Linked DNA regions of Homo sapiens: all the other regions are linked to region 1. The links are contacts of gene promoters, found by promoter capture Hi-C in human tissues and cell types (Jung and others, 2019). All regions are on one chromosome and are shown on one strand. The core of a region is centred on a gene start or on the middle of the fragment in contact, and the rest is flanking DNA. Distances in the headings are between cores, read along the strand shown. Region 1 holds the start of TFDP3 (transcription factor Dp family member 3). Region 2 has its middle 56 kb from the start of TFDP3. Region 3 has its middle 37 kb from the start of TFDP3.

Region 1 (4,042 bases), core at 487-2,986:
GGGGGTGCCATCCAAATCCAAGGCAAATAAACGGCATTCGGTACTCACTGTGCACAAAAGGAGAGCATTTTATTTTCATGGATGTGGATGAAGTACAATTTCTTCAGTAAACTCAGGAAAAACTGTTAAGGGGCAACAATGAACTCTGCATTTAAAGAAAAATAGAAAATGAAAACACAAAATCCTAAAAAGTAAATAAAGATTCTGTGTCAGCACACTGGTATCAAAACACACATCAACAGCACGTCTTAATCATACGGGAAACAATCCTTGCTTATCAGAGGTGCATATCTAAATTCTATAGCTTACCAATATCTTCTTGGGAGTAGGCAAAAAAGAAACAGAAAACCTCACATTAAAAAAAAAAAAAAAGTTTCTTTTCCCTAAATGTTTTCCTGAAGCTGAATCTTAAGGCGAGAGGACGTCAGTCATCCTCGTCATTCTCACTGAGGTCGTCATCGTTGTTGTCCTCCTCCTCTTCCTCCTCGACTGCTGGGGTCTCCACCCTGGAGCCACTGTACTGAGATCCACCGGAGCTTGTGGCCAGCATCCCAATCGCAATGTTGGTCAGGTCACTGGCAGAAAGCCACGTGCCATTAGACCTGGAACCTGCCGTCGTGAACACACCTCCAAAAGTTCCCTGAGCCATTTCTGTCACGTACGGCTCCAGAGCCTTTGGGACCAAATTTCTGGCCATTTTAAGGTCTTCGGCAGAGCAGCTCCCGGACTCTAGCCCAAAAGTCATGCCCATCCACATCAGCACTTCTGTGTCATCGTGGATTTCAAAGGAGCTGTTAAACTTAAACAGATATTCTGATTTGTCGTCGGAGATGCTGCAGTTGATGACGGTCTTCTTGCTACTGCTGATGATGATGAAGGGCACGTGGATGACTGAGTTGGGCAGCGGCCGCTGGCTGACCTGCTCCTCCACATACTGGTTTCTCAGCACCAGGTTCTTGAAAGCAATTTGCTGTAGAATAAGTTGTTGAAGTTCAGACTGTTTCTGCTTTATTCTTTCAAGTCTCTTCTGTCTTTCCACCCGTAAGTTCTGACAGTTCTGAGCCGAGTTGGTGGTCAGACCAATCCACTTGATCTTCTTTTTCTCCCTGGAGATGATATTCATGGCCATCAGCACGTTTAAGGCATCGTAGGTGCGCCGTTTTATGTTTTTCACGTCATAAGCTGACTCGTTTGGTGAGGCGTGGTTGCTGGCAGCTCTGAACTTGGCGACCAGCTCGCCCACCACTTCCTGGCAGGAAGTGGTCCCTTTCCTCTGCACCGTCTCCCAGACCTTCATGGAAAGACGGCACAGGCCCATGCCATTCTTCTCTCCTTTCCTGTTGTGCTGCCCGGCCCAAGGAGGTGAGGAGTAGGAATGCTGGTTCTGAGAGGCAAAGTGAGTGCTGGGTGGGTTTGGGCTTCCTACCACAGGGATGTTTGATGCTGCTGGTCTCTGAGGCATACCAATTACCACTTGCTGGTCAATGTTGACACTGGACTGTCCAAAGGTTTTCGGCAAGAGCTGCTTCCCGAGCGGGTTCACGGTGGAGGTGTGAACGGCCACGGGGCGGCTGGTCTGGTTCTCGTCCATTAAGACCTTGAGTTCTTCGTTAGCTTCAGTGAGACTGACATATTTTGCCATGTTAACAGATTTGGGAAATAAATGCTATAAATGTTCACCTTTCCAGAGAAGAAAAACAATTCTTCCAGGCCGAGTGTAGGGCTGCCGTGAGGTGCGTGGCGTAACGTGCGTGGCGTAACGTGCGTGGCGTAACGTGCGTGGCGTAACGTGCGTGGCGTAACGTGCGTGGCGTAACGTGCGTGGCGTAACGTGCGTGGCATAATGTGTGTGGCGTGTGGTACGTGGTGTGTGGTACGTGGCGTGTGGTACGTGGTGTGCAGTACGTGGCGTGTGGTACCTGGCGTAACATGCGCCACGTGAGGTGCGCAGCAGCAGGGGGGCGGTCCGTGCAGTGCGCCTGCGTGCCTTTTCACGCCTTCAGCCTTTCCTCCTCTGGCCCTACCTCTTAATACTGTTACAATGGTAATTAAGTTTCCAACACATGAACTTTTGGAGGACACATTTAAACCATAGCACATCCTAAAGGGACTGATGAAAATCAGACGTGTAGGCCTCTGCAGGCCCGTCTATCATTTCTTCTCAGCCATTGTCTCACAAGAAGCTGGATCTGGGCTCTTGCAAGGATTATTTCTTCACCTGCTGGTCAAGAAGCTTATTGTGGAAGAATCCAGTTTTTGTCTCTCTACCCAAACAGCTACACTAAGCCTTCCTGAGTAGATAGAGATGGGAAAAAGGAGTTAACAATATACAGTATCATTTATTTGTTGGGCTGTGGTACAATCAATAGACTAAGTCCACAGCCTACACCTCACTTTGGAAGCTACACACATTGCCAATGAGAAAGAAATCTAAAGAGAGAACAAGACAAAGCCCAGCAGAAGCAGAGGCCTGTGGCAGTCTCTTTCTCCCACCGTTGGTCTCAACTCTGCCTTACTCACCAAAAGTCCTAATAACCATGCCACACAGGCTCTGTGTCTTCAGGCCTGCTTCTCTAGTCCACACCAACTTCCTCTAGCACCTCGACTCTGGAAATAATGCATGTGATTGCACACAAGCATACACCTCAGCCTCAGATACACAGAGGTGCTGTCTCACTCACCTCGGGCTGCCGTAACAAAACACCATAGACTGGGTGGCTGAAACAATAGACATTTATTTTCTCACAGTTCTGGAGGCTAGAAGTCCAAGATCAAGTTTCCAGCAGGGTTGGTTTCTGGTGAGGGCTCACTTCCTGGCTTTCAGATGTCTGCCTTCTCACTGTGTCCTCACATGGCAGCAGGGCTTGGAGAGATCTCTTTTGACAAGGACACATCCTATCCTATTTGGGACCCACCCTTATGACCTCATTTAACCTTAATTACCTCCTAAAGACCCTATCTCCAGATACAGTCAAATTGGGGGTTAGGGCATCAACATATGAGTTTTAGTGGGTAGGGGGACAAAATTCAGTCTATAGCATTTGCTAAACAGAACCAGAGCTGGACAGTAGTGAAAGAGTAGTGAAATTGGGGGTTAGGAGTTCAACATATGAATTTTATTGGGTAGGGGGACAAAATTCAGTCTATAGCATTTGCCTAACAGAACCAGAGCTGGACAGTAATAAAAGAGGTAAAACAGATATTATTCAGGAACTATGGCAATGGGGCAAAAAGACCTCAGGATAGAACTGGGCTCAATTCTTTTTTAAGGCAGAGTCTCACTCTGTCACCCAGGTTAGAGTGCAGTGGCACGATCTAGGCTCACTGCAACCTCCGCAATCTCCGCCTCCTGGGTTCAAGTGATTCTCCTGCCTCAGCCTCCTGAATAGCTGGGATTACAGGCTCCCGCCACCACGCCCGGCTGTGAGCCACTGCACCTGGTCTGGGCTCAATTCTAAATGCAGTAAATGCAAGAGGATTTATAGCCAAGGAGCAGAGCAAAGTGGTCAGTGGATGAAAAATTACTAAGAAGATACATCAAGGGTAGATGAATTCTTGTTAAACCAACTTAACAAGATTCTTGCTAAAGGTAGGCTGGGGTGATCAGATATCAAGGGTGGGGAAGAAGAGTGTGATCAGATATTGAAGGTGATTGGATATCAAGAGCAGGGGATTCTCACTAAAGTGACTTAAGCTAAACTCCTGCTAAAACTAGACTTAGCAAGGATGAGGTCAAAAAGAGGGCTTAGAAGAGCCTGTCTAAAGTTTAATTAAGGAGAGAGTTTTAACCCCTCTGGTTCGCCCCAAATTTATGTTTTCTCACATGCAAAATGCATTCATTCCATTCCAACAGTCCCCAAAGTCGTCACTCTTTCCAGCATCAACTCTTAAAGTCTGAAGTCCAAAGTCTCATCTAAATATCATGTAAATTATATATTGGTGAGACTAAGGTAAGATTCATCCAGAGACAAAATTCCTCTCTAGCTGTGAACCTATGAAACCAGACTAGTTATGTGCTTCTAAAATACAATGGTGCCAGAGG
Region 2 (4,042 bases), core at 1,129-3,628, 56 kb before region 1:
AGAAAACTCCAGCAAACTGGCAGTAGAAGGGACTGACTGTCAGAAGGAAAACTAACAAACAGAAAGGAATAGCACATCCACTCAAAGACCCTATCCAAAGGTCACCAACCTCAAAGACCAAAGGTAGATAAATCCACAAAGATTGGGAGAAACCAGCAGAAAAAGGCTGAAAATTCCAAAAACCAGAATGCTTCTTCTCCTCCAAAGGATCACAACTCTTCACCAGCAAAGGAACAAAACTGGACGGAGAATGAGTTTGACAAATTGACAGAAGTAGGCTTCAGAAGGTAGGTAATAACAAACTCCTCTAAGCTAAAGGTGCATGTTCTAAACCAAAGCAAGGAAGCTAAAAACCTAGAAAAAAGGCTAGAGGAATTGCTAACTAGAATAAGCAGTTCAGAGAAGAACATGAATGACCTGATGGAGCTGAAAAACACAGGACGAAAACTTCGTGAAGCATACACAAGTTTCAATAGCCAAATCAATCAAGCAGAAGAAAGGATATCAGTGATTGAAGATCAACTTGATGAAATAAAGACAGAAGACAAGATTAGAGAAAAAAGAATAAAAAGGAATGAACAAAGCCTCCAAGAAATACGGGACTATGTAAAAAGACCAAACCTAAGTTTGATTGGTGTACATGAAAGAGACGAGGAGAATGGAACCAAATTGGAAAACACTCTTCAGGATATTACCTAGGAGAACTTCCCCAACTTAGCAAGACAGGCCAATATTCAAATTCAGGAAATAGAACACCACAAAGATACTCCTCGAGAAGAGCAAACCCAAGACATAATCGTCAGATTCACCAAGGTTGAAATGAAGGAAAAAATGTTAAGGGCAGCCAGAGAGAAAGGTCGGGGTATCCATAAAGGGAAGCCCATCAGACTAACAGTGGATCTCTCTGCAGAAACCCTACAAGCCAGAAGAGAGTGAGGGCTAATATTCAACATTCTTAAAGAAAAGAATTTTCAACCCAGAATTTCATATCCAGCCAAACTAAGCTTCACAAGCGAAGGAGAAATAAAATCCTTTACAGACAAGCACATGAGAGATTTTGTTACCACCAGGCCTGCCTTACAAGAGCTCCTAAAGGAAGCACTAAACATGGAAAGAAAAAACCAGTACCAGACACTGCAAAAACATACCAAATTGTAAAGAACATTGACACTATGAAGAAACTGCATCAACTAACTGGCAAAACAACCAGCTAGCATCATAACGACAGTATCAAATTCACACATAATAATATTAACCTTAAATGTAAATGGGCTAAATGCCCCAATTAAAAGACACTGACTGGCAAACTGGATAAAGAGTCAAGACCTATCGGTGTGCTGTATTCAGGAGACCCATCTCACATGCAAAGACACACATAGACTCAAAATAAAGGGATGGAGGAATATTTACCAAGCAAATGGAAAGCAAAACAAAACAAAACAAAACAAAAAACAAAAACATTAGTTGCAATCCTAATTTCTGATAAAAGAGACTTTAAACCAAAAAAGATCAAAAAGACAAAGAACAGAATTACATAATGCTAAAGGGATCAATGCAGCAAGAAGAGCTAACTATCATAAATGTATATGCACCCAATACAGGAGCACCCATATTCAAAAAGCAAGTTCTTAGAGACCTACAAAGAGACTTACGCTCCCACACAATTACAGTGGGAGACTTTAACACCCCACTGTCAATATTAGACAGATCAACAAGACAGAAAATTAACAAGGATATTCTGGACTTGAACTCAGCTCTGGACCAAATGGACCTAATAGACATCCACAGAACTCTCCACCTCAAATCAACAGAATATACATTCTTCTCAGCACCTCATCGCACTTATTCTAAAACTGACCACATAATTGGAAGTAAAATACTCCTCAGCAAATGCAAAAGAACAGAAATCATAACAAACAGTCTCTCAGATCACAGTGCAATCAAATTAGAACTCAGGATTAAGAAACTCACTCAAAACAGCACAACTACATGGAAACTGAACAACCTGCTCCTGAATGACTACTGGGTAAATAACAAAATTAAGGCAGAAATAAAGATGTTCTTTGAAACCAATGAGAACGAAGACACAACGAACCAGAATCTGTGGGACACATTTAAAGCAGTGTGTAGAGGGAAATTTACGGCACTAAATGCCCACAAGAGAAAGCAGGAAACATCTAAAATGGACACCCTAACATCACAATTAAAAGAACTAGAGAAGCAAGAGCAAACAAATTCAAAATCTAGCAGAAGACAAGAAATAACTAAGATCAGAGCAGAACTGAAAGAGATAGAGACACGAAAAACCCTTCAAAAAAAATTAATGAATCCAGGAGCTGGTTTTTTGAAAAGATCAACAAAAGAGATAGACCACTAGCCAGACTAATAAAGAAGAAAAGAGAGAAGAATCAAATAGATGCAATAAAAAATGATATAGGGGATATCACCACTGATCACACAGAAATACAAACTACCATCAGAGAATACTATAAACACTTCTACACAAATAAGCTAGAAAATCTACAAGAAATGGATAAATTCCTGGAAACATACACCCTTCCAAGTGTAAACCAGGAAGAAATCGAATCCCTGAATAAACCAATAACAAGTTCTGAAATTGAGGCAGTAATTAATAGCCTACCAACCAAAAAAAGTTCAGGACCAGACGGATTCACAGCTGAATTCTACCAGGGGTACAAAGAAGAGCTGATATCATTCCTTCTGAAACTATTCCAATCAATAGAAAAAGAGGGAATCCTCCCTAACTCATTTTATGAGGCCAACATCATCCTGATTCCAAAACCTGGCAGAGACACAACAAAAAAAGAAAATTTCAGGCTAATATCCTTGAAGAACATCGATGTGAATATCCTCAATAAAATACTGGCAAGCCAAATTCAGTAGCACATCAAAAAGCTTATCCAACACAATCAAGTCGGCTTCATCCCTGGGATGCAAGGCTTGTTCAACATATGCAAATCAATAAACGTAATCCATCACATAAACAGAACCAATGACAAAACCACATGATTATCTCAATAGATGCAGAAAAGGCCTTAGACAAAATTCAACACCCCTTCATGATAAAAACTCTCAATAAAGTAGGTATCGATGGAACATATCTCAAAATAATAAGAGCTATTTATGACAAACCCATAGCCAATATCATACTGAATGGGCAAAAACTGGAAGCATTCCCTTTGAAAACTGGCACAAGACAAGGATGCCCTCTCTCACCACTCCTATTCAACATAGTGTTGGAAGTTCTGACCAGGGCAGTCAGGGAATAGAAAGAAATAAAGGTATTCAAATAGGAAGAGAGGAAGTCAAATTGTCTCTGTTTGCAGAGGGCATGATTGTATGTTTAAAAAACCCCATCATCTCATCCCAAAATCTCCTTAAGCTGATAAGCAACTTCAGCAAAGTCTCGGGATACAAAATCAATGTGGAAAAATTACAAGCATTCTTACACACCAATAACAGAAAAACAGAGAGCCAAATCATGAGTGAACTCCCATTCACAATTGCTACAAAGAGAATAAAATACCTAGGAATACAATTTACAAGGGACATGAAGGACCTCTTCAAGGAGAACTACAAACCACTGCTCAAGGAAATCAGAGAGGACACAAACAAATGGAAAAACATTCCATGCTCATGGATAGGAAGAATCAATATCGTGAAAATGGCCATACTGCCCAAAGTAATTTGTAGATTCAATGTTATCCTCATCAAGCTACCATTGACTTTCTTCACAGAATTGGAAAAAACTACTTAAACTTCATATGGAACCAAAAAAGAGCCCGCATAGCCAAGAAAATCCTGGGCAAGAAGAACAAAGCTGGAGGCATCATGCTACCTGACTTCAAACTATACTACAAGGCTACAGTAACCAAAACAGCATGGTACTGGTACCAAAACAGATATATAGACCAATGGAACAGAACAGAGGCCTTGGAAATAAAATCACACATCTACAACCATCTGATCTTTGAGAAACCTGACACAAACAAGCAATGGGGAAAAGATTCCCTATATAATA
Region 3 (4,042 bases), core at 1,052-3,551, 36 kb before region 1:
GATGTCTCTCTGAGTGCAATTTCTATGGCCCTGTTGGAGTGATCCTTAAAGACCCCACAAGGGGGCTTACTCCCCCATTTACAACACAGTCATCAATTCAGCAATTGGTTTCTAAGAATAAGCTTTAAAGTCAGACAGATTTGGGTTTCAACCAGGCTCCAATATTTCACCAGCTGTATGACATTTTGTTCAAGTCTCTTGACCTCTTTGGGCTTTGTTTCTTTCATCTGTCAGTCTCCCTCACAAAGTTGTAGGGATCTTAAGGCTTAATGAGATTATATCTATAAAGTCTTTAGAACAAAGTCTGGCATATACTAAATGCTCAATAAACACTAACATCTCTAATTTCCAAGAAGGTACCCCAGATAGAGAATATTTCCCACTGAAAGAAATTAAATTATTTTACCCCCAAAATATATTTCTTTGACATATTTTGAAAGGGCTGCTGCTTAGCCATCTTGACAAAAGTGGCCTTACAAAGCTTTGTAAGGCCCCTTCTTTCCCCACTTAACACAGCTTCTTAAGAGGGGAAAATTTGTATCTGTAGAGAATCCCCATTAATACAGCCATGCCCCCTCCCCTCTCTATGCCTTGCCCCAGATCCAGGGAGAAATTGAAGGTCTGACCCCTTTAAAAGTCTGAAAAGAAACGGATACGGTTTGGATCTGTGTCCCCACCAATCTCATGTCAAATAGTATTCCCCAGTGTTGGGGGTGAGACCTGGTGGGAGGTGAATGGATCTTGGGGGCGGATTTCTCATGAATGGTTTAGCACTATCACCCGGTACTGCCTTCATGATAGCGAATGAGCAAGTTATCCTGAGACGTGGTGGTTTAAAAGTATGTAGCACCCCCCCAGCCTTGCTCTCTTGCTTCTGCTCTTGCCCTGGGAGATACTTCACTCACCCTTTGCCCTCCACCATGATTGGAAGTTCCCTGAGGCCTCCCCAGAAGCAGAAGCTGCTATGCCTCCTGAACAGCCTATAGAACGGTGAGCCAACTAAATCTCTTTCCTTTGTAAATTACCCCGTCTCAGGTATTTCTTTATAGCAGTGCGAGAACAGACTAATACAGAAATATTTACCATTTATGCTCTCAAGAGAGGCTTCATCTACATAACAAGGCTACCTTTGCTAGCCAAGCCTCTTCTCTCTCTCCTATAACTTGTTTTTACCAGAATCGAAGCCCCAACTCTTTCTGTAACCTCAAAATGGTATATAAGTTTCTGTGACTCATTGAGAAGTTGGGTCTTCATCCTGAGGGCTTCCATATATGCATGTTAAATAAATTTGTATACTTTTTCTCCTATTAACCAATCCACCCCATTTCAGTGATTTTTTGAGAATCTTTCAGGGGCCCAGAGCCTATAGCCCCCAGACCACACAATACTGATGTTTCCACTGTAAGAAATTCATGAATCTGGACTAATGGTTATCCCCTCCAAGTATTCCCTTTGGTCATTTTCATTATCAGGCTTCAAAATCAAGGGGGTTGGTGAGCAATGGCCATGGAATAATAGCCTGGATATGGCAGAAGAGAATGATGAACCCCACCTCTTTCATGCCCTGTGAAATTGAAAAGGTAAGGAAAGGAGAGGGTTTTGTTTGCAGTGAATGTGTTCCATGGAGAGGCAGAAACAGGAGAAAATCAACCATCTTTGAGTTAGAGTGAACAGGAAGTGTGAGGATTCCAGGCCTTCCTCTCCATCTCTATTAATACTTCTGGGAAAATAAAAGTAGGCTGTTATATCCATTGGAGAGCCACACACCCAAAGAATAAAATTCTCCAGGAGAACCTGAAATGATAAATAGGGGAGCTTTTGTGCCTTCTCTAAGCTAAGGGACATTTAACAACAGAAGGCCATTAGTTAAGTTTTGTGGTTGAGGATGTGGGCCCAGGAACAAAACTGCCTGAGTTTTGACCTCTTTGCTAGTTATAAACCAGAGGACTTTGGACAATACATTTAGTGTCTGTGCCTCCATTTCCTCACCTTTGAAATGAGAGAGATGTGATAGTGCATAGGACACTTGTGAGTATTAAGTGTCTTATAACATTCTAAGTGCCTAATAGAGTGTCCAGCACTTAGTAAGTGCTCAATTAATGGTAGCTGTTAGTACTGTTACCATAGCAGACCAAAGTGTAAAAAGCAATTTTGTTTGAGAAACAGAAATGATTTCACATAACTGCTTTTAAAATTAAGAGTTGAAACCATAAATTCTAGTTACAAGTGATAAAAAGCTTTCTTACATTTCATATTACGGACACATGGGGTAGGAGACAGCAGAGGGGATAAAATCAATCTGGAAGGAGAACCAGAGAGAACAGCCAAGACAGACAGCAAGGAAAGGAGGAGACAGAAAGGGAGTCGTGTGATGAGCAGGTGCTGGGTGTGCGAGTTACCATCACCTCCTGTTTCCCTGAACTCTGGACTTCAGAGGAAGTTGTCACCACCTTTTGAAATACATTGCGTTTTTTGGCTCTTAGAAGTAGTTTTTCTGCCTTTTTTCTAAATCTCAACATTAAGTTCTGAAATAAAATTATTTTTTTCATGAAAGGATGAGGGTTTTATACCTGCACACAGGTGAAGGGATGACTTGGGGTTTAGACGTGTTCTTTAGAAGGTGAAAAATATCAGCAAATTGACAAACTCCATCTGGAAGTCCTTTGGCCATGAAAGCTGTCAGAATAACTCCGATCTGTTCTTTGAGGCTGTCTCACTTGTGTTCATAAGTTTACATGTAGAACACTATGGACCTCTCAAGTTCTTCTGTCCCTAGGAGCAAAGGCAGAGGTGGGCTCCACAGGTCAGAGGTTCTTCCCCTGTTCTGAGCCTCAAACCAGAACATTGCAAAACAACTGGCCACCCTGGGAATATGAATCATTTTAGTGCTTTCCGCCTTTTTTTTTTTTTTGAGACAGAGTCTTGCTCTGTCACCCAGGCTGGAGTGCAATGGTGCAATCTCAGCTCACTGCAACCTCTGCCTCCCGGGATCAAGCAAATCTCCTGCCTCAGCCTCCAGAGTAGCTGGGATTACATGCACCTGCCACCACACCCAGCTAACTTTTGTATTTTTAGTAGAGACGGGGTTTCACTATGTTGCCCAGGCTGGTCTCGAACTCCTGACCGCAAGTGATCCACCTGCCTCGGCCTCCAAAATGCAGGGGTTACAGGCATGAGCCACCATGCCTGGCCCTGCTTTCTGCCTTCTAACTTGTTTTGAGGTTTGGAATCTGTGCTGGGTAGGGGTAGGGGGTTGCTAGATCCCCTCTGGGCTTATTCTGCTAGGCCAGAGGCAGCTAGGACTTTGGGTCCTCATGAAATTCTTCCCAAGTCTGTAACACTACGACTGACAATCTAGCTTAGGGGCTGGCAAAGTTTTTCTGTAAAAAGCCAGCTAGTCAATGTTTAGGTTTGTGGGACATACAGGTCCCTTCACAATTAATCAACTCTACTGTTGGAGTACAAGAGTAGTCATAGACAATATGTAAATGAATAACTGTGGCTGTGTTCTGATAAAATTTTATGGCCACTGACATTTTAATTTTACATAACTGTCATGTTTAACAAAATAGTCCTCTTTTCAAACATTTAAAAGTGGAAAAACCATGTTAGCTACTAAAACAGGTATACAAACAGAGGTGGTGAGCCAGATTTGATACATGGGCCACAGTTTGCTAAGCCCTGGTCTAGCTACGAGATTGAAAACCTGGAATTTGGGCCAGGTGTAGTGGCTCATGCTTGTAATCCCAGCACTTTGGGAGGCTGAGGCAGGAGGATCACTTGAGGCCAGGAGTTCAAGACCAGCCTAGGCAACATAGTGAAACCCTGTCTCTTAAACAATTTTTTTTAAAATTAGCCAGGTGTGGTGGTATGTACCTGTAGGTCTAGCCACTTGGGAGGCTGAGCGCAGGAGGATTACTTGAGCCCAGGATTTTGAGGTTACAGTGAGTGAGACCCTTTCTCAAAAAAAAATTTTAAAAACATCTGGGCTTAGAAAGATGCTGCAGGACAGTGGAGAGTGATGATCCTGAGATCCTGGACT

What was found. The method cuts DNA at HindIII sites, captures the fragments that hold promoters and counts their contacts. A contact is called where the count stands out against the background at its distance.
Region 2: a contact is called between a fragment that was not itself captured here and the fragment with the promoter of TFDP3 in region 1, in 1 of the 25 tissues and cell types used here (stomach).
Region 3: a contact is called between a fragment that was not itself captured here and the fragment with the promoter of TFDP3 in region 1, in 1 of the 25 tissues and cell types used here (stomach).

The regions. Positions count from the first base shown.
Region 1 is chrX:133,216,618-133,220,659 of GRCh38, forward strand. It overlaps TFDP3 (transcription factor Dp family member 3), which reads right to left and starts at 1,737. Exons shown (of 1, transcript NM_016521.3): 1 at 45-1,737. The coding sequence starts at 1,642. The coding sequence ends at 425. The HindIII fragment of the contact is 22,207 bases long and covers 1-4,042 here.
Region 2 is chrX:133,160,232-133,164,273 of GRCh38, forward strand. No RefSeq gene overlaps it. Among named protein-coding and RNA genes, the nearest start is that of TFDP3, 56 kb to the right of the region's middle. The HindIII fragment of the contact is 5,152 bases long and covers 1-4,042 here.
Region 3 is chrX:133,179,635-133,183,676 of GRCh38, forward strand. No RefSeq gene overlaps it. Among named protein-coding and RNA genes, the nearest start is that of TFDP3, 37 kb to the right of the region's middle. The HindIII fragment of the contact is 6,638 bases long and covers 1-4,042 here.